Regions from separate parts of the Homo sapiens genome. Here all the other regions are linked to region 5. Evidence: promoter capture Hi-C in 16 types of primary human blood cells and fetal thymus (Javierre and others, 2016). All regions are on one chromosome and are shown on one strand. The core of a region is centred on a gene start or on the middle of the fragment in contact, and the rest is flanking DNA. Distances in the headings are between cores, read along the strand shown. Region 1 overlaps IL31RA (interleukin 31 receptor A). Region 2 overlaps IL6ST (interleukin 6 cytokine family signal transducer). Region 3 overlaps IL6ST (interleukin 6 cytokine family signal transducer). Region 4 overlaps IL31RA (interleukin 31 receptor A). Region 5 holds the start of DHX29 (DExH-box helicase 29). Region 6 overlaps IL6ST (interleukin 6 cytokine family signal transducer). Region 7 overlaps IL6ST-DT (IL6ST divergent transcript).

Region 1 (3,075 bases), core at 172-2,671, 590 kb before region 5:
AACACTGAAATCATAAATGGAATTTATCACGTGGATCTTTTCAAAAAGGACAGAGAGTAACGTAAAAGCCAATATCTGTAATCCCAATAGAGCAAAAGCACAGAAATATCATATATGTGCATTTTTCATAGCTGTTTTCTATAAATAGCCAGGGCATAAATCCTGACACATGCCTTTTTCCAGTAAACAACACAGTCTGAGACAATAGTCCAAGTGTACAGGCTTCTGATGATCTAACCATATAGGGATGAAACAAAAAACAAGGAATTTACATTTCACTTGATTTCTGGACTGTATCTCTCAAATATCCTGTCTCAAGCAAGTTTTGTCAGGAGATGGCTCACTGGCAATTTATAGTTGAATGCCCTGACATGCACCTGAAATATCAAAATGCTGAGCTACTGATTAGAGAACGACCCACCCACCTTAGCCATGAGAGGAAAGCAGAGAGTTCTAAACAAATGTCGAGACGGCTAGCGGCCCACGATTTGGAGAAGAGAGTAAATGTCCCTAGTCAAAGCTGCAGTAGTTGCACTCTGAATTTTTTCTTGAGGAAGTAGCATGGCTGGAGATAATGTAATTAGGTCCACAAAGAATGAGTCTACCACTCAGACCAATATCTAAACTATTTTTTAGAAGTAAGAGATTGTCTTCAGGGATCTTTTAAACTGTAGGTGATTGGATATCTTAAAGTAAAATTACTGGCTGGGCACGGTGGCTCATGCCTGTAATCCCAGCACTTTGGGAGGCCGAGGCAGGTGGATCACTTGAGGTCAGGAGTTCGAGACCAGCCTGGCCAATGGTGAAACCCTGTCTCTACCAAAACATATAAAAAATTAGCTGGGTGTGGTGGTGTGTGCCTGTAATCCCAGCTACACGGGAGGCTGAGGCAGGAGAATCGCTTGAACCCGGGAAGCGGAGATTGTGGTGAGCTGAGATCGCGCCATTGCATTCCAGCCTGGGAAACAGAGCGAGTCGTGTCTCAAAAGAATTGTTTTTAAAAAAGTAAAATAACTGAACTCCAGCTAAAGACAACCTTATAATGAGGAAAATGTACCAAGTACAATTGAGTTAATAACTTGTTTTGCCTTTAATGGAGAGTCACACTTCTACAACTACTCTTGCAGAAGCCAAAGTCTAGTTAACACAGTCTAGCTGTTAGGCCCAGGATCTCCCAATGAGATAAATGCAATTCCATTAGAATTGCTTATAAGGATATTGAACTGTGTTGACTTTACATATTATTTCATCTGAATCCCACTGAGGTGTTGTCTCAAAAGCTCTGCCATGAGTTTTCTGATTTCTCAAAGGCTTTTATTGAATCATAAGACAGGACAGCCGGTACTCAAATTTCTCAGACAGGAAGCAACAGGCTGGTTTCACCCTGTCTACAAGCCAGTGAGATGTAAGCAGTGGCCAAGTTCCTCCCAGAAGACAGCCTTTGTACAGGACTACAAAGTCATTAGACCTTCCAAGGAAACCCGCAGGATTAGAGGGACCTTTACTCCATCTCTCACGTGCAGAATCTCTCTGTTCCAATCATGTGGAGAGTCAAACTTAAGGCCAGTAATATTGAGAGTAAGAAAAAAAAAAAAATCTAAAGACAAGGTGTTCATTACTACCCAGTCCTAAATATTCATCTCAAGGATAGATACAGGCAAAGCTAAACTGATTATTAAATAATCATTCCAGGCACTTGACTAGAAATATGAGTGAAATTCTTCTTGGATTTAGCCCATAGGCAGCCAGGCATGGTGGCACACACCTGTAGTCCCAGCTATTCGGGAGGCTGAGGTGGGAGGATCACTTGAGCCTGGGAGGCGGAGGCTGCAGTGAGCTGAGATCTCACCACTACATTTCAGTCTGGGTGACAGAGTGAGACCCCGTCTCAAAAAAAAAAAAAAAAAAAATTATCTCATAGGCAGCCATTTTGTTTTTGTAGATGGTAATAATAAATGAGTTTAAATTGATATTTTCTTCTTTCATTGAGGCCACTATTTCCTGCAAATATGGTCCAAAGAGAGACAGTCTTCTCAGTATAGACTTCCCACAGATGCAGCTGTTAGTGAAACTGCTGCCTCACTACCATGTAAGTCTTCTATAGTTATTATAGCCAGCTTTCCATTAACCGTAAATTGATCATGGATTTTCAGTTTAATCAAAGGGGGAAATGTAAGGACTCTGAAAAAAAAATTAAAATTTTCCAAATCAACCAAAATGTCTACATATTCAAAGGCATCAATTGTCTGGACTGATGCAGCAACAATTGATGCTATACCATTTCTATGACAGTATGGGCATCCCCACAACCAGCAGCAGTTAGACATGTGCAGGTGCCCCTGCTAGAGACCAACAATAATACAAGCTAGCTCTTAGCAAGTGTCAGTTTCTCTGAATTTTCTCATTTAATGCCCACAGCCCTGTAATCAGATACAGCAATAATGTTACTAATCATCATTTCTGAAGCACAGAGAAATTAAGCAGGTATTCAATATCATAAGCGTTTAAGAAATAAAGCCAGGATTTGAATCAAATTATTTCTGTATCATGTAGTGAGTAGATATTTAAATGCCTAAATATAGGTAAGTAACTCTAATAATCAATATATTGAAATCCAAAATAAAATAGGCAGTGCTTCACATTCAACTTAGAATACATGTTTTGAAACAATTAGAGAGGTTTGAAGTGGTACGCATTAAACAAATGGCATTTCATTGAAATAGGAAAACACACGCTTTATAAATTTGAAAACAAGAAATGAGGATTGGCTGGGGGGTGCATTTTAATCAGTTTCTTCTGGGATCCTGAAAAAATGAAGAAGGACAAAAGCAAAAGTTCTCTAGTGGTGACTTTGATAAATAAGTGTTTGCTAATTAAATCAAGCTAGCTGAACTAATAAATCAGATGAAATAGCAAATCTTTTTTCTGGCAGCAAAACAAGCTGAGAAAACTGACACGAGGGACTGGCTGGTCTGTGATAAGCTTGAGACTCTGAGCCACGATGGCACCAGGAGGTCACTAGAAAGAAGAGTGACAGCCATGGCAGGGGAAGAGCTAGGCAAAACACAATGGCAC
Region 2 (2,920 bases), core at 316-2,815, 650 kb before region 5:
AAAATCATATTAACTAATTTTTCAAAATTTTTATAAATATAATTAGAAGACCTGGTATTTAATAGAATAAGAGAGGAGTTGAATAAAATCTAAGCAGTGATGTGTTGATCATGAAGAGGCAATTACAGATGACAAAACAGAAGTGAGGACAGGCAGACCAGGAAGGCTGGGAAAAGGCTGCTGGTACAGGAGATTCAAGTAGATAAATACAGTGCCAGCACACAAACAGAATAAAGAACATGAAGTTATAAGAAAGAGTGATGCCTCTTTAGTTGTTGCTCAGAATACATTTTTACCTTTACAATTTTGAGGTTAGAAAAGAGTTCCAGTATAATTGATCAGGCTATCACCCTGACTAAAGGAAGAGCCAGGTGTTTTGTGCTGGGTTGGGAAAATGCTGGTATAAAGAGGTAGAGACACCATGCAATTGGAGGGCAAGAGTATTAAGAACAAAGTAAAAGAATAATTTGCAGAATTTTATTTTACTGTTAAAACCTTTTTATTTTAAGGAGTTTATGTCTTTTCTTTAGGACCATCTAAAGCACCAAGTTTCTGGTATAAAATAGATCCATCCCATACTCAAGGCTACAGAACTGTACAACTCGTGTGGAAGGTAAAAAATCACATTTATATTTTATCTCTTATAAATCTTTTTTTTTTTTTTTGAAACCGAGTCTCGCTCCATTGCCAGGCAGGAGTGTAGTGGCGTGATCTTGGCTCACTGCAACCTCTGCCTCCCAGGTTCAAGTGATTCTCCTGCCTCAGCCTCCTGAGTAGCTGGGACTACAGGTGTGCGCCACCACGCCCCGCTAATTTTTGTATTTTTAGCAGAGACAGGGTTTCACCACGGTGGCCAGGATGATCTTGATCTCTTGACCTCATGTTCTGCCTGCCTCGGCCTCCCAAAGTACTGGGATTACAGGCATGAGCCACCGCGCCCAGCCCTTATAAATACATTTTGTATGGTATTATGAATGGAGGTCTTTTAAATAGATAAATTTTTATTCATTTTAATAGCAAAGCATTTGATTACTATTTTTACTAAATAGAAAGGTAATGCTTTATATGTATTAATATTATATAGAAGTCAGGTTCATAAACTACAAATAATACCTTATAGGTATTTAAGTACAGTTCTGTGAAAGTATAAGTTCTATAAGAAGAGGAATGTTGTTTTTGTACTTTGGAATTTTCCAGAGTAACTCAGAAAATAATAAAAGTTTGTGATAATCAAAATGTATGCTGGTAAGTGCATGAGTAGATCATACTAAAAAAGAAGGTAGAAAAATACTCAAGCATAAAATAAATAATTTAGACCTACATAGCCACAGTGCAGAATTGATACAGAACCAAAAGCTAACGGAATGATGCTACTTACCCTTTTTTAGTTGAGGTCATGCTTTTACTCTTCATTTAGTATGTACTAGTTTTATTTTAGAACCAAATTTAAAATGGAGATTGTGAATCCTTTCCAGTTAAATATTTAGAGATTTGACATAATGGCATGATTTGTGAATATGAAGAAAAACTGATTTTTTATTCAAGATTTATGAGATTATTTTTAAAAATAAACTATTTTATTACAGACATTGCCTCCTTTTGAAGCCAATGGAAAAATCTTGGATTATGAAGTGACTCTCACAAGATGGAAATCACATTTACAAAATTACACAGTTAATGCCACAAAACTGACAGTAAATCTCACAAATGATCGCTATCTAGCAACCCTAACAGTAAGAAATCTTGTTGGCAAATCAGATGCAGCTGTTTTAACTATCCCTGCCTGTGACTTTCAAGGTTTGTATCTGTGAGATGGAGCCTGACTCTTGGGTGGAAAAATGGTGGTTAGGTATGGACAGGGCTCCCATAAAAAACACAAGTTATCTAAGACTGTCTCCTCAGTATCAGGGATAATCACTTGTTTATTTTTTAATTTTTTAAATTTTATAAATAATGATTTTCTTTTTTTCAGAGACTGGGTCTCGCCAGGTTGCTCAGGCTGGTCTCGAACTCCTGAGCTCAAGCGATCTCCCCTGGCCTCCCAAAGTGCTGGGATTAACAGGCATATGCCACCAAACCCAGCTAGTGATCGCATTTTTAGGAATCAGTCAGCAGACAAATTTCATCAGGATGCAAGAACATTTCCATCACTACATGCTCACTTAAACTTCACAGTAAGCTACTTCATTCATTTAAGCATATTCTGATTACTTACCTGGTTTTTAAAATATTATTTCAAGATTTTGAGAACTTTGTATACATATGACTGAAACGTTTATCTGTAGCTTTATTCGTAGCTTTCAAAGAAGAAAAATTGCAATTACAAACCGAAAGCATTTGAAGAATTTAGGGAAAGCAAATTTTTTTTTTTCTTTTTGAGACAGTCTTGCTCTGTCGCCTAGGCTGGAGTGCAATGGCACGATCTCAGCCTCTGCCTCCTGGCTTCAAGCGATTCTTGTGCACCAGCCTCCCAAGTAGCTGGAATTAAAGGCACGCACCACAATGCCTGGCTAATTTTGTATTTTTAGTAGAGACGGGGTTTCACCGTGTTGGCCAGGCTGGTTTCGAACTCCTGATGTCAAGTGATCCACCTGCCTTGGCCTCGTAAAATGTTGGAATTACAGGAATGAGCCACAGTGCCCAGCGGGGAAGCAAAATCTAAGTTTAAAAATTGACTACTTTACCTGTAAGTTATAATAAAGTGCTTTTAGGCAAGGAAGTATATGCTACAAAAATTGATAAATCACATGTTTTGGAAATGACTGTAAAATATGGAAATTTCAAATTTGTTAATATTTATTATTTCAATATTCAAACTTTGTTTTAAAGCTACTCACCCTGTAATGGATCTTAAAGCATTCCCCAAAGATAACATGCTTTGGGTGGAATGGACTACTCCAAGGGAATCTGTAAAGAAATA
Region 3 (2,739 bases), core at 59-2,558, 680 kb before region 5:
TTAAAAGAATGAAAAGACAAGCATACAAGAAAATAATGCGTAAATCCATTTTCTAATAAAGGCCAGAATATCTTCTTAGAACTTTCAAAACTTAATGAGAAAACAGGAAACCCAGTTGATCAATATGTTTGAACAGACACATCATCAAAGAAGATATAGCCAAGCACACACCTGCCGTAGGGCCTAGCCATTCCACTCTTCACTTACCTTCTATTTTGGGGACACACACTATGTGTTAGTTTCCTAGGGGCTACTGTAATAGAGCATCCCTTTGTTACAGTATCCCTTACCTGAAATACTTAGTAACAGAAGTATATTGGATTTTGGATTTTTTTTTTTCAGTTTGTGTTGTATTTGCATTATATACTTAAAGTTAAGCATCCCAAATCCTAAAATCTGAAATCCAAAATGCCAGAGCTCAAAACGTTTTGGAATTAGAGCATTTCAGTTTTTAGATTTGGGATGTTCAACCTGTACCACAAATTGGGTGGCTCAAAACAACAAATTTATTCTCTCAAGGTTTTGGAGGCTAGAAGTCCTTTTGAGACTTTGGATAGAATCTTCCTTTGCCTCTCCTAGCTTCTGGTGGTAGCCATCGTCGTTGAGATTCCTTAGCTTACAGCTGCATAACTCCAATCTCTGCCTGTGTATTCACATGGTATTCTTCCTGGCTCTGTCTCTTTAAAGACACCAGTCATATTGTACTAAAGGCCTATTATACTCCACTATAACATCCAATTAAATCTGCCCATAGAGTAACATTTTGTGCTACTGGGGTTAAGACTTCAACATATTTTTTGGGGGGAACAGTTCAGCCCATAACAAACAAAAAGAAAATTAATTTAATTATATTGTATTTAGAACAGGGGTTGGCAAACTATAGCCCATAAGCCAAATCCAGCTTGCAGCCATTTTTATAAATAAAGTTGCATGGGAATATACCTATGCCCACTTATTTACATATTGTGTATGGCTGCTTTTGCACTTTAATAACGGAGTTAACTAATTGCAAGAGAGAACTTAAAGCCCACGAAATCTAAAATATTTATTATCTGGCCCTTTACAGAAAATGTTTGCTAGCCTATTTTAGAAGGTGTTAAGTGTTGTAGAAAAAAAAAAAATCAGTAAAGGGGTATAAGAAACACAGGGTGGTTAGGGAAGATCTCTATGAGGAGGTGAATTTGAGCAAAGGCTACAAGGAATTACTCTCTATATATTAACTTATGAAGATGTCCACTATGTAGTGTTAAGTGAAAAAGGTTATAAAACATTTCTCACTTACATGATCCCATCTTTGTAAAATAGAAAAGTGTGTATATTTATACAATGTAAAGTTATATAATACATGTATAAAAAATTTTGCAAGAATATCCACCAAAATGTTCATGGTAGTTATCTCTTGGTGGGATTATAGTGCACTTTCACATGGCATTTTTTCAGTTTCTTTTCATTAGACATTTAAAAAATATTTTTATAAATTTAATTCCTTATGTGTTATTAAGTTATATCAAAGGCTTAATGTGTATGAAACAATAATGGAAGATTCAACTCCTTGCCTAAGTTTGAAGTTACTTGTTGTATTTCAAAGAGGAGCACTAGTACTTAAGCTAGAATTTAAGTGAACAAATCTTAAAATGGATTTTTATCTCTGGTTACATAGAATAGTTGTTAGCAGGCTTAATTTAGTGCTAGTAGAAGAAGAAATATGTGATTGTTAAAGAACTCCGTCTGTCATAAATGTTCCTGTCATGTTTCTGTGACATTACATAGACGTCAGGGAAGTTTGCATTAGGTGTGGGTGAGCCAATAATGTTTGCAAGCGTATATCAAATCATAGCACTAGGGCTGGGCGCGGTGGCTCATGCCTGTAATCCCAACACTTTGGGAGTCTGAGGTGGGCAGATCCCTTTGAGCTCAGCCTGGGCAACATGGCAAAACACTATCTGTACTAAAAATAAAAAAATTAGCTAGGCATGATGGTGCCATCTCTAGTCCCAGCTACTCGGGAGGCTGAGGTGGGAGAATTACCTGAGCCTGGGAAGTTCAAGCTGCAGTGAGCTGTAATTGTGCTACTGCACTGCAGCCTGGTGATGGGAGTGAGACATTGTCTCAAAAAAAAAAAAAAAAAGCACTAGAATATTTGAATACTCTTATACAAGTGTTTATGGGTTTATTTTATTCTGAAGCTCAGAACATATCTAAAGTAGGATACTTTCTGCAAACCCAAAAGCCTAAGAGCAGATGGGGATTTTTAAAGTACACATATAATAAAATTATCAAAGCCAGCCTTCTGAACAAGACTCTCCTCTCTTTACAGTGAAACCCAATGGAAAAAGCATGACATTTAGAAGTAGAAGACTTAGCTTCAAATCCCTACTCCTTCACTTACTAATTTTGTGATTTGGGTAAGTAATTGATCTTGTCTGAATTTTTTGTTTTTTTATTTTACAAAGTTCCAATAAATAATCCCTGCCCTACTCACCTGATTCTTTAGGATATTAGGAGACTAAAGTGAAATAATTTATGTGACAACATTTTGTGTAATGTAAAATAATATCCTAGTGTTAATTGTTATGAACTCATAATTGATACTAATGGAAGAGAACAGAGTGGATAATTTAAAAACTAATTTAATAATTAGTTAATTTTGTGTAGGTATTACCAACTTCTGGCAGTTTATTCACAGTAACACTGTACTGTGAAAGATATATAGAAATTTTCTTCATCTTGATCCCCACG
Region 4 (2,883 bases), core at 245-2,744, 610 kb before region 5:
CAGGAGGAGCCCAGTACTATCTCAGTGCTGAAGCCAGCAATCCACACTTTCGTGAAAGGCTCCACTAACTGTCACAAGCTCTGTGCTCAGCTAGAGAAAAGGAGCAGAAGTCCTCCTGTTGGGGCTGCAAATTTGCTAGGCATTGCATGTTCCCAGGCCCTGCCCTGCTGCTTCCGGGAAGAGGCCTTTTAAGTAAGCATTCCTGGGCTCTGAACCAGTGTGAGGGGCCAGCGTCCCTATATGACAACCACTGCAATGTCAGGTGCCTTTCTGCTCCCAGGCTGGGTGCTGAATAGAAGGGCAGCAGCAGCTGGGAAGTGGCCCCCTGGAGACTGGACAGAGCTGCGCCCGGCAGCATACATTCCCCAGGGCCCTCCCCATTCCTTGATTTTTTAGTAGTCAATGCAGTCTAAATTGGGGGTGAGGATTCTCAGGTGCGGTGTTGCTACAGGCACTTGAGATCTAAGAGGATGTGAGGAGCCTCAGACAACCCCTTAGGAAGGTCCACTCCACCTCCAGCCCCAACTATGGGGAGAGAGGAAGGCTTCAGGGCTACCTTGTAGGGGAAGACCAGAGCCCAGGCTCCCACCAGACCACCCAAGAGCCAACAAAACAACTGTCCTCTGGCAGCAGGGAAAGGCCTTCTGGAACTCTGAGGCTCAGCCCCAGCAAAGGCTGGGACCATGACCCAATTCCTGGGAGGCCAGATATGTCCACCCTGGGGGTCCTTTGGGCTCAGAACCTGGGCCCTTCCTTCAAAGTCAATCTGTCAGGAGGCCTCGGTGAGAGCTTGGTATCTGAACAAACGAAAAGAGACTGCTGTTCCTTTACAAAACTCGGGCTTATCACCATCCCTTCTTCCCAGTACAAGGTCGCATCTTTGCCGACCAAGTTCAACTGGCAGCTCAAGGGGCAGGGGAAACTTTAACCTAGGCAGGATGTGGCAGGGCCAAGCAAGCGCTGCGTGCCGAGTCTTGACATCTTCTCTGGCAAGGGCCATCCACACTGAGGCCCCGAGGGTCTCATGCTATGGTCGCATTTAGACTTCTCCCTTGGTGTGCTCTGGAAGTTTTTCAGACACAAGAAATTCCCTGGCTGTCACTGAATTTTTCAAATATGGATTTGGGGCTCCTTCCTCACACAGATGATCTGGTACTAAACTTTGACCAGAAAAGAGAAGCTGCTCTTTGGCTTCTGGGCGGGTCCCCTCTGGCATCCTCGAACGTAGGTATTGGGATTTTCTGGGCGGAATCTCAGGTGAAACTGGGAGCTCCTCAAAACTTTTCCCCAGGGGACAATCAGGCCTGAAGGGGCAGGTCACATACCCATTCTTTTCCCCTCCTAAATTGTTTTCCTGACCCGTTCTGGCTTCATCTGTGAAAATTTCTTGCAGAACATTCCCAAAGTTCACCACCAACTTGTCAATCACCAACTTGTCACTGGGGGTGGAACATGGTTTTAAGATCCTGTCTTCTGTGTTCACAGAGTCATCAGACTCCTTCAGGTTTAGCTTATCCTGGAAAAGAAAAAGGGACATCCCAAGTGGTCATTTAGGAGTCACATATGACATAGCCAAAAACTCGTTAGGCTTGGGACAGCAAATGCCCATCTCTGGAACAGCCCCCACCTTCCTCCCAGGCCCAGAAGTGGTAGCCAACCCTCTCTGCATGCCCTTCCACAGAGCTTGGAAGGAGTGGCACATTTCCTGAGAAACAGTGCCCTGGATTCAAACAATTTTTAAAATTTATTTATTTATATGTATATAATTTTTTTTTTTTTGAGACAGGGTCTCACTCCCGTTGCCCAGGCTGGAGTACAGTAGCATGATCACCACTCACTGCAGCCTCAACTTCTCAGCCTCAGGTAATTCTTCCCCCTCAGCTTCCTGAGTAGCAGGGGCTACAGATGCACACCACCATACCTGGCTACTTTTTAATTTTTTGTAGAGATGGGGTTTTGTCATGTTACCCAGGCTGGTCTTAAACTCCTGAGCTCAAGCAATCCCCCCTGCCTTGGCCTCCCAAAATGCTGGGATTATAGGCATGAGCCGCTGTACCCAGCCAATTCAAACAATTTCTTCTGCTAGAGTGTGCAAGGCTATTTTCCACACAATCCCATGTTCACAAAACCCCAGTTAAGATGGAAGAACTAAAATTAGAACTCTTAGGGATGGAAAAACCACATCATAGAGACAGACTTGTTCAACCTCACCAGAAAATCAGAAGTGGCCTCATGGCAGGGACAGTGACTTTGTCATTTGTATCCCTAGGGCCTAGCCCAGCACCTGGCATGTAGTGAGTGATTAATAAGTGCCGGCTCTAGAGGTCCAACCTACGGATTATTCAAAAAGCATGTTAGTTATCAGAGAGCACTGCCTATGAATCCATTTACTCTCTAAATGACATTTAATAAGCAGGAAAGTAAATGGGGGTATAAATCAGTCCAGTATACCGGACTGATAAGAGGAGGAAACAGAAAGAAAGCCCATTATAACAAAAGGCCCATGCTCAAAAAAGACTTCTGAGTGGGAACGAGGACTAATATTTAAAATTTGTGCATCAAGGAAAAACTGGAAACAGCCTTTCAGTAACAAGGATTTAAAGGTTATATTTGATTGGGCTTGTTTCTACGTAAGCAAGAAATTAAACCTTAAAATTTCCCTAACGGTTTTCCACTTAAAAATTTATGCAAATGGAGGGTTTCTAGTTAAGGAATACTCACTAGAAAACCCCAATGCCAGTTAAATAAAGCCTGACTCTGACGTCCCCAGCCTGAGAAAAACAACCTGAGGCAGCCTCAGACTGCCATGCCCATCAACATTCCCTGGTGATATTTAGACAGTCTTTAGATTAATGTGCTCTTGGCTGCTTTGTAAATGGCTTC
Region 5 (3,048 bases), core at 451-2,950:
TCTTTCCCTATACTATTATAGTACTCTGCCAACCACTGCCAAATTAATTTTCCTAAACTATCATTCTACTTATCCAATCACCTTGTTCAACAGGGTTTTAAAAATGAAATCAAAACTCCTCTGCTTGATATTCAAGGCCCCTCATGTTCTCAAATCAATGTATATTCCCAGTCTTATCTCTTGTAGTCCCTAAATGAAACAGTTCCTCTTGCTCAATTTATGCTCCTAAAAACAAACAAACTTGGCACCATTAACAACACAATTTCCTTAACTCAGAATATTCTCTTGTATATAAATAAGCCTTCCTGAAAGTCAGAAATAGGATCTCCCTTTCTTGAACTTTTATAACACTTAATTGTATATATCATTCATTTTAAGTTAACGACCTCCTCACCTATACTGTAACTCTTTAATGGGTACCTGTTCTCTTTCCCTACACCGAAAATTCCTTGAGAGCAAAATCATGTCTAATTTAATTTCAAGCATCTATTGGGTATCTGGCCCCACAATGCCAAGAGTATATTTTGTTGATTGTTAATTAATCATCTTACTTTATTTAATACAAGTAATAGCTTTTCCTTGTTCTACTATAAACAGATCTGTACACTTTCTGGTGGCTGTATGCACCAGTCTAAACATATGGGTAGGGTCCAGTAATTTTTAAATTTTTTCTCAATAAACTCACGATAGCTACCATTTATTAGTGATAGCTAGCTAACCACTGTTAGGCACTTTACACGTGTATCTCATTGAATCCTCATATCCACCAGTGGTAGGCACTATTATCTCCATTTTACGGAAGAGAAAACTACTACATCTTGGAGATTAAATGTCTCTCCCTTCTCATGTTATTATCTGCCCTTTCCCCTCCAAATCAATTCATATCATTTTTTCTAAACCTTTTCACCTTTTACTCAACTAATCATTCGTTTTGTTTATTAACGACTATGTGCCAGGTGTTGTGCTGATGCAGGAGACAACCGCGAAGATGGGGACAGAATCAGTAACATCGACGTAAGGGAATTGAAGCAGAAGATCACGCTGCCTGCAGACACCAGGAAACGCCAAGACCCCCCTTCCACGAACCAACATTCTTCCACCCTCTCCAACTTTTTTCTGGAACCCCTTCACTTCCAACGCCACTCAATGTACACTTCACTTTCTCGTGCTCTTCCTAAGAGAGTAGTGTTTTCTTCCTCCCCACCGAGAAAAAAAATAAAAGCAACAACTGGAACTTCTTCCTTACCCTGCCTTGTCTGCAGACCCTGGAGGCCCCTTCCATTTCCCCTTGTCCTTTTCCTTGTCTTTTTTGGTTCCCGCCGCAGTGGTCGAGTCGCCCTCGAACACGCTGAACAGCTCATCTCCGAATGCGTCCGCCATTTTTGGGAGCAGTGAGAGCAAATCTCCCTCCTACCCACGATGCCCCGCGACCGAAGACAGTGACGTCTCGTGAAGGCTCAACAGTGGCCCGCAGGAGACAAAAGTAGTCGAGTCGCGCAGCCGACAAAAATGTTCCCCTGACTTTTTTTTTTTTTCCTGCTTTTCTTTCCTTTCCTTTCCGACCTAAAGTGGATAAGCTGCTCAGTGGATAAAGAGCGAGGGCGGCGCGTGGCGCCTGGCGTGTGGCAGGCAGCTGGCGACTCAAGGAGGCGGAGCCTGCTGAATTCGACCAATTGCGAGGCAGCGGTCGCCCCGGCCCGAGAAGCCCGGATCGAAGCGCAGGGTGGCAGCCCCGGAGCCGGGGAATGTGAAGAGCTCTCGGCTGTGCAGTGGTACCGTCGGGGCCTGGGCCGCGAAGGATCTTCTGCCACAGCTGCAACATGGGCGGCAAGAACAAGAAACACAAGGCTCCAGCGGCCGCGGTGGTCCGGGCCGCCGTGTCTGCTTCCAGAGCCAAATCTGCCGAGGCTGGAATTGCCGGGGAGGCCCAAAGCAAGAAGCCAGTGTCCAGGCCGGCCACCGCTGCCGCTGCCGCTGCCGGCTCCAGGGAGCCCCGTGTCAAGCAAGGTACGAGAGGTCCCCCAGCCCCTGGCTGTCTGCCCTGAGACCTTGCTGCTTGTCCTGAGGAAAGGGCCTTAGAACCCGGGAGGAGCTTCGGGCCCAACATTTCTATTTCCCAACACTCGAGCTGCTACCTCCCCATGGGGTGGCCTTGTTTTAGATTAAAAAAGTCTAAGCTCTTTGGGCCTCCAAAATTCTGACAGTAGCCCTGTTGCAGCCTGGCATTTCTCTTTTAACTCACACTTCTCCCCCTTCTAAAAACAAAATAATTGCATTAGCTCCTGTTTCAGCAGGAATTCATCCTGAGCACCATCTCAGCTAGCTAGGCTAACGCAAAGACGAGTACTGAGTGGAGTTCCTGACCTCCTGGTGCCAGCCAGCCCCATTTTCTGTCAGTTTTTCATATCATTTTCAGCAACAATCTAGTGTCTCCATGCGTTCTGGAAAAATCAATACTTAATAAAAATTACAGGACTTACACACTGGTTACACACTGGTTACGTGTAATCTATTGTAAAATTGTCTGCCCTCGTTTCTGCCGCCATGCAGTTTTGCTTACTGTACAAATTGATTTGACAACTCAACTTATAGATGGCCGATTCCTGCTGCAGATGAGCAGGCCACATATTACGGTTGAGCTCAAAAGATGAACAATTACATTCTGTTGTGTTCTTCTCGGGTTGTTTGCTTGTACTTATTGGAGTATTCAAGAAATATTTGCTGAGCATTTATGTGTATATATGCAAATATTTAGTATGTGTCTGATAAGATGTGAGGAATGTGATGAGCAAAAAGAGACATCACCTCATGGAGCTTGCCAGTCTAATGTCAGAGATAGGTATTAACTAATAGGTAACGCACACAGACATATTTATAGCCTTATAATAGATAAGTGCCACAAAGAAAAGCCAGGGAAGACAGTTTAACAGGGTAATCTAATTTTTCTCGGGATGAGCAGGTATCATGGATGGTGTCTGGAAATGTAACAGTTAAGCTGAGATGAGGAGAATGAAAAAGGAGTTAACTCTGTGAAGCATGGCAGAAATT
Region 6 (3,027 bases), core at 32-2,531, 630 kb before region 5:
TTTCTATTACAGGTATTGTTAGATTATATTGTGCTGATAAGATTACTTTCTAAAAAATTTGTACTTTTCTGTAAATTAAAAGAATATGGAGTCATAAAATGGCAAGTGTTTTAGGATTAGCCTAAAATTGGACATTGTCATTGATTTCAAAGAAGGTATGAACTAGCAGTCTTACAGCCTAATTCTTCTTTGGACTGGTCCTTGGCAGCAGTTCCTTTTCAGACTCGATAAACAGAATTCAGATGATGTAAGTCAAAACAAAACTTTACAAAGCCAAGCGTATTATCTTTTGCATTAACCTATTTTTTTCCATCATACATGCTACTAGTATGTGCATTAGCATGATATTCTCATATACATTGCATTAAAAATTAAAAGGTGGCAGCTCAGGGTGAGCTCTTCTGTTGCTCATTTGTTCCTAAATTTTTAAGGGCTTTTTCTCAGTCAATAGTTTGTACAAACTGGTTAGTTTAACTTCATTACCCATTTCATTAAAGTTGATGGGTCGTGTGATGAGATGCATTTAAGGCCGATAGTGATAGATGTTTTTTTTATTTCTTGAACACAGGCTTTGTCTGAATGATGTTCTTTTATCTCTTGAACACAAGCTTTGAATGATAACTACAGGTTTTAAGTGCTGTTACATTAATACCATAATGTGATGTGTTAGAAACAAAGGGATATTTCAAAGGTAGATATTTGAAAATTCTCTAGTCTCAATATGTATGTGTATTGAATATACTCTAAAAATAAATGTGCAATTTGCTAGTAGGACAATGCAGTGACTGACTAGCATTAGGTATGTTTCTTTTATATCCTAGCTATGTCCCACTTTCTTCTAAGTGCAATCCTTTCATGTTCACTTGCTGTTTTACCCCATCTACTCTAACTTCATTTGGAAGGCTTGTCTAGAGTATAGCATGTATTTTTACCTTTGCAGTGAATTGCATGTGCTAATTGTAACCACAGCTATTTTTATGTTGACATAACTCCAAATGTTATATTAAATGTTCTATTATATATTAGCTCTAATCCCTTAAGTAAATTTTAAGAAATAAATACTTGTTCAAATTTTTTTTCTGTATGTGGTTACTATCATCTGACTATGCATATTTGTAACAGCATTTATCATTAGTGGTGTTAGCTAAATAAGCATCTTAGTGTAAATGAGATGCTTCGTGTGGGTTTTGTGACATTTTAAATGACATAATGGAATGTGATTTAAAAGAAAACCAGTACACTATCTTGGTCTTAATAACATAGAATGGAGATGGCAAATTTATCCACTAGTTTTCCAGATTTACTATTTAATAGCTGAGGTCTGAAATCGTAGCATCCTCCCTCCTAGTGGACATTAAAAAAAAAAAAAAAAAAAAAAACCTACTTGGTTGTCAAGAGCCCAAGTATGGAGGTGCTGCGCCATCTTGTGGCCTGTCTGTGCCCACCCTGCACTCTGCTGGAGTCTCCATCCTTGTTGCAGTGAGACTTGAAGTTCAAGATTGATACATGGCATCCTCCTGCTACTTCTTGAGGTTACTAAGTAGTATATGAAACTAATCAGTCAGCAAGTCCACCTGGAAGGAAAAGAAAATCTCAACTATTAATGTGCCTTCACATTGTGATTTTGTCTAAAAAAATGTAGTGAGTCAAAAAACCCACAAGCCAGCCAACAGTAACTCCTTCACATATATACCAGAGTTTATAGAAATAACATGTCAGCTTTGGGCTATGTGCTCCTTTGTTTAAAATCTTCTATTTGGTTATGGCTTGTATAGGCTCAAGCCTGATTTCTTTAAGGTGTGGTGGCTCATCTTATCCTAATGTGTATGATAGATACAGTCCATCCTGCTTTGGAAAAGATTATGTAACTCCTTGAGAGCATACTCTTTCTCTAGCCCAAAGGCAGTGAGAGAGTTTTCTTGTTCAGGATTGCTTAACTTTCCATTTAAGCTTTTTCTTTTTAAATTAATACAAACTTCTACACTTTCAAAATACGAAATATATTACAACTGCGTATAGGCTCTTCCATACTTAAGTCCAGTGCTTGGGCAAGTTAATGGAGTGAAAGACTACAAGCAAAGAGGAACTGAGGTAGAAAAAGAAGAATGTGTGAAAGCAGCAGGAAGCTCAGCCAACTCGAAAGCAGGGTGAACAGCTTGAGTCCTGTTGCTGCTGATCGGGGTTGGCTCTTGGACAACTTAGTAAGATCATGGAAAGGCTGCTTGGGTTCTCCATAGAAAAGTTCTGTCTCCATCAAGGGAGGAAAATGTACCTTTCAACTCAAAATTCAATATTTGTTTTTAAATATAGCTATTTTCCCCAACCGCTAAAGATTTTCAACAGATACGAAGCCAGAGCTTAGTTTTAGAAACCTGTGGACATTCAAACCTGATTCTTTATTCCCTGTGACTATGGTTATGTCATTTTACATGTCAAAAAAGTGTATCTAGAATTGTCATTTCTTATTTTTGAGCTTTTTTTAGTGAGAATTATCCCCTCACTTAAATGGCTTTTTATTTAAACATCTGTGCATTCTGTATGAAATTGTAGTCTTTCTGGGATAACATGGTGAGCTATATGGTGGTAATCCACACACACAAAAATAAAAGCCAAAAAAAAACCAAAACCCTCAGGTAAAGTATTTCTCTTTCTTCAACTGTCTCATTAGCCCTGGCTGTGGATGGTCTTTCTGAGACAGGCTAGCCAGAGTAATTCAACGGCCACAAGTGGTTTCTCCCCCAGAGTGCTGGTTCAAACTCTGAATGAGACCAGCCTGTTGATTAGAAATCTAATACCTCAGTCCAGGCCTACTTTCCTAGAACAATCTTCACTTAGTAACAGGTCCAAGACACAACTATTAAGTATACATCTGGGTCCCTTCCCCGTAGGAAAAGGTTTTCCCTGCAGTCTTGCCTGTAGTCAGAAGCAGCCTGTTGACTAATGATAGCTTTTAAATGAATTTATAGAAAATTCTTGGAAATAGGCTCTATAAGCTTTATGAGAGGGATAATGCTTTTAAAGGAATGG
Region 7 (2,700 bases), core at 110-2,609, 690 kb before region 5:
TGGTCAGATTTTCAGCACGGTACATGATAAAGATTAGAATTTTATTCTGGTTGCTTATTACTCCTAACAAAACAGTGACTTAAAACAAACATTTTATTATACCATACAAATTTTTGAGTCAGCAGTTTGGAAAGAATTCAGTTAGGCAGTTCTTCTGCTCTATGTGGCATTGACTGGGATCAGTTAGTATTATTCATCTCGTGGCTGGTCTGGTATGGAGGTTCCAAGATGGCTTTACTCACATGCCAAGTTCCTGGGCAGGGTCACTAGGAAGACTGGGATCAGCCGGGCCACTCCCCCTCTCCCTGTAGTCTCAGCTCTCTCCAGATGGTGTAATAAGGTAGATGGACTTTGTACACAGTGACTCAGGACTTCCACAGACCAAGGTGAAAGCTCCTCTTAAAAGCCAGACCCTGAACAAGCCTGCCTAAATTCAAGATGAAGGGAAATAGCCCTCAAATCTCTCCATAGAAGAGTATTGAAGAATTTGTGGCCATTTTAAATCCACTACAAGGTATAAAAATGTAGAACTGAAAGTAGAGAGAGGCAACTGACTTCTTATAATGCCCAGTTTCTGAAGTATTTATGTATGAGTACTTCCAGAATATTCTCTTAACATCTTCCTCATAGCACTGTAACATGGCTATGATTTTTGTATGATTGTTGGTTTATGTATTAGACTTTTGAGCTCCTCAATGAGGACAACACGTGTGTCTTCCTTAGATTAATATCTCAGTGCCTGGAACATAGTTGATGCTCAAAACTTATTGAATAAATAAATTGAATACATTAGAATGGTGGGATCCCGTCTTCACAACACCAGAGCAGCGTTCTGCTTGATATAATTTCCTTCTCCAGATTCGTATCTTCTTATGAACGTAAGAGAAGCTTGATTTAAATGTGTAGAAATAGTATCCATTATAAATATTTATGTGAATAGCTTTTAACTTTTCCCTGTTGTATTAGTTCTCCACTACATAACAAATTATCACATACTTGGCAGCTTAAAACAACACACATTTATTATCTCAGTTTCTGTGGTCAGGAGTCTAGGCACAGTTTAGCTGGGTTCTCTGCTTCAGTTCTCATGAGGCTGCAAACAAGTTGTTAGCTGAGGATGCTGTCTCATCTGAGGCTTGACTGGGGAAGGATCTGCTTTTGTTGGCAAAATTCAGTTCCTTGAGGTTGTAGGACTGAGAGATTTGGTTTCTTTCTCTCTTTTTTTTTTTTTTTTGAGATGGAGTCTCGCTCTGCCACCCAGGCTGGAGTGCAGTGGCGTGATCTCAGCTCACTGCAACCTCTGCCTCCTGGGTTCAAGAAATTCTCTCCCTCAGCCTCCTGGGTAGCTGGGATTACAGGTGCCTGCCACCACACCCAGCTAATTTTTGTATTTTTAGTAGAGATGGGGTTTCACCATCTTGGCCAGGCTGGTCTTGAACTCCTGACCTTGTGATCCACCCACCTTGGCCTCCCAAAGTGCTGGGATTAAAGGCATGAGCCACTGTGCCTGGCCGGGAGATTCAGTTTCAAAGCTAGCTGTTGGCAGAGTCTGCCCTCAGTTCCTTAACATGTGGGTCTTTCCATATCAAAGCTCAAACATGGCAGGCAGCTTGATTTTTCAGAGCCACAAGAGAGAGAGAGACACTAGCAAGATGGGCACTATCTTATATAACTCAATGACATACATGCCTTCACACTCAAGAGGAGGAAATCACACAAGGAATACCAAGAAGCAGGAGGTCATAGCATTTCTCCTAAGAGTCTATCTGTCATATATCCTTACATCCAAATAATGACTCTCATAATTTGATATATCACCAGATAAGCTTTGTTTCCAGTTTCATTTGACCCTGACATTAAATTTCATTTATTTATTTGTTAATTATGGAAGATGGCCATTCCGTAAATCCTGTGAAAAATCAGAGGGGACAATTATCAGAAAATTCCAGCCCTCTCAGGAAGTATATCCATTTCATTTTTACTTTACAGTAGGGACTGCCTTCCTCTCTTAAGGAGACAGATACACATTTGCCTAAACCATTATTTAATACAATTAGTACTAGATCTTTCTTCAGATCCTATGTAGGGGGCTGGGAATTCTTAGCTATACAAGCTCACACAATATATTTTTTAAAATTCATGTTGATACTTTTTCATCTATTTGGTTTTAGCACAAGTATCAGACTGGCAGCCAAGGAACCTATTTTGTAACTGCAGAATATTCTTTCCAGGAAGACTGGTGAAAGGAGAATCAACGAAGGAAAGCCCTTGCTTCTCAAACTCCCCCTGATAATATTCTGAAGCAAGTATAGTCCATTCCAAAGCTACAGTCCCAATACCTGACTTCCTTATCCTATGTATGTGTCTAGGAATAGGATGCACCTAACTGCTGCTCACATGTCTTGCACTGGCCTTTCCTTCTCTGAAGCCAAGCTTCCCTCTCAAAGAGTAACTCAAAATCATTGACCAGCCCATGGCTATTTGACCAGGGTTATCCCTGGAAGTCCACAGTATGGAGATCTCTGAGCTAGATCCCTTCCTCTGTGTTTACCTTTACAGAGCAGTGCTTATTTCTTTCTTTTTTTTTTTTGAGACAGAGTCTTGCTCTATCACCCAGGCTGGAGTGCAGTGGTGCAATCTCGGCTCACTGCAAGCTCCACCTCCCGGGTTCACACCATTCTCCTGCTTCAGCCTCCCAAG

Evidence for each region. Contacts are between HindIII fragments. The CHiCAGO score rates a contact against its expected background, and 5 or more counts as called.
Region 1: a fragment that was not itself captured here is called in contact with the fragment with the promoter of DHX29 in region 5 in 1 of 17 cell types (endothelial precursors); the score reaches 5.4 in endothelial precursors.
Region 2: a fragment that was not itself captured here is called in contact with the fragment with the promoter of DHX29 in region 5 in 1 of 17 cell types (monocytes); the score reaches 5.0 in monocytes.
Region 3: a contact is called between a fragment that was not itself captured here and the fragment with the promoter of DHX29 in region 5, in 1 of 17 cell types (fetal thymus). The highest score is 6.9, in fetal thymus.
Region 4: a fragment that was not itself captured here is called in contact with the fragment with the promoter of DHX29 in region 5 in 2 of 17 cell types (endothelial precursors and megakaryocytes); the score reaches 8.8 in endothelial precursors.
Region 6: a contact is called between a fragment that was not itself captured here and the fragment with the promoter of DHX29 in region 5, in 1 of 17 cell types (fetal thymus). The highest score is 6.3, in fetal thymus.
Region 7: a contact is called between a fragment that was not itself captured here and the fragment with the promoter of DHX29 in region 5, in 1 of 17 cell types (fetal thymus). The highest score is 6.2, in fetal thymus.

What each region holds. Positions count from the first base shown.
Region 1 is chr5:55,892,645-55,895,719 of GRCh38, reverse strand. All of the region lies in intron 6 of IL31RA (interleukin 31 receptor A), which reads right to left. Among named protein-coding and RNA genes, the nearest start is that of IL31RA, 43 kb to the right of the region's middle. The HindIII fragment of the contact is 3,126 bases long and covers 1-2,984 here.
Region 2 is chr5:55,954,902-55,957,821 of GRCh38, reverse strand. IL6ST (interleukin 6 cytokine family signal transducer) reads left to right here. Exons shown (of 17, transcript NM_002184.4): 9 at 531-613; 10 at 1,587-1,797; 11 at 2,830-2,920. Among named protein-coding and RNA genes, the nearest start is that of IL6ST, 39 kb to the left of the region's middle. The HindIII fragment of the contact is 4,335 bases long and covers 1-2,920 here.
Region 3 is chr5:55,982,390-55,985,128 of GRCh38, reverse strand. It overlaps IL6ST (interleukin 6 cytokine family signal transducer), which reads left to right. Exons shown (of 17, transcript NM_002184.4): 2 at 2,318-2,405. Among named protein-coding and RNA genes, the nearest start is that of IL6ST, 11 kb to the left of the region's middle. The HindIII fragment of the contact is 3,957 bases long and covers 1-2,739 here.
Region 4 is chr5:55,915,277-55,918,159 of GRCh38, reverse strand. IL31RA (interleukin 31 receptor A) reads right to left here. Exons shown (of 15, transcript NM_139017.7): 15 at 1-1,516. The coding sequence ends at 1,040. Among named protein-coding and RNA genes, the nearest start is that of IL31RA, 65 kb to the right of the region's middle. The HindIII fragment of the contact is 5,310 bases long and covers 1-2,883 here.
Region 5 is chr5:55,306,346-55,309,393 of GRCh38, reverse strand. DHX29 (DExH-box helicase 29) reads left to right here and starts at 1,700. Exons shown (of 27, transcript NM_019030.4): 1 at 1,700-2,007. The coding sequence starts at 1,821. It overlaps MTREX (Mtr4 exosome RNA helicase), which reads right to left and starts at 1,405. Exons shown (of 27, transcript NM_015360.5): 1 at 1,247-1,405. The coding sequence starts at 1,380. It overlaps LOC124900979 (a long non-coding RNA gene), which reads left to right. Exons shown (of 2, transcript XR_007058774.1): 2 at 957-1,245. RefSeq lists enhancers at 1,152-1,631, 1,772-2,031. The HindIII fragment of the contact is 7,705 bases long and covers 1-3,048 here.
Region 6 is chr5:55,934,694-55,937,720 of GRCh38, reverse strand. IL6ST (interleukin 6 cytokine family signal transducer) reads left to right here. Exons shown (of 17, transcript NM_002184.4): 17 at 1-2,626. Among named protein-coding and RNA genes, the nearest start is that of IL6ST, 59 kb to the left of the region's middle. The HindIII fragment of the contact is 1,342 bases long and covers 611-1,952 here.
Region 7 is chr5:56,000,958-56,003,657 of GRCh38, reverse strand. It overlaps IL6ST-DT (IL6ST divergent transcript), which reads right to left. Exons shown (of 2, transcript NR_102755.1): 2 at 9-1,909. Among named protein-coding and RNA genes, the nearest start is that of IL6ST-DT, 7.1 kb to the right of the region's middle. RefSeq lists an enhancer at 203-497. The HindIII fragment of the contact is 938 bases long and covers 891-1,828 here.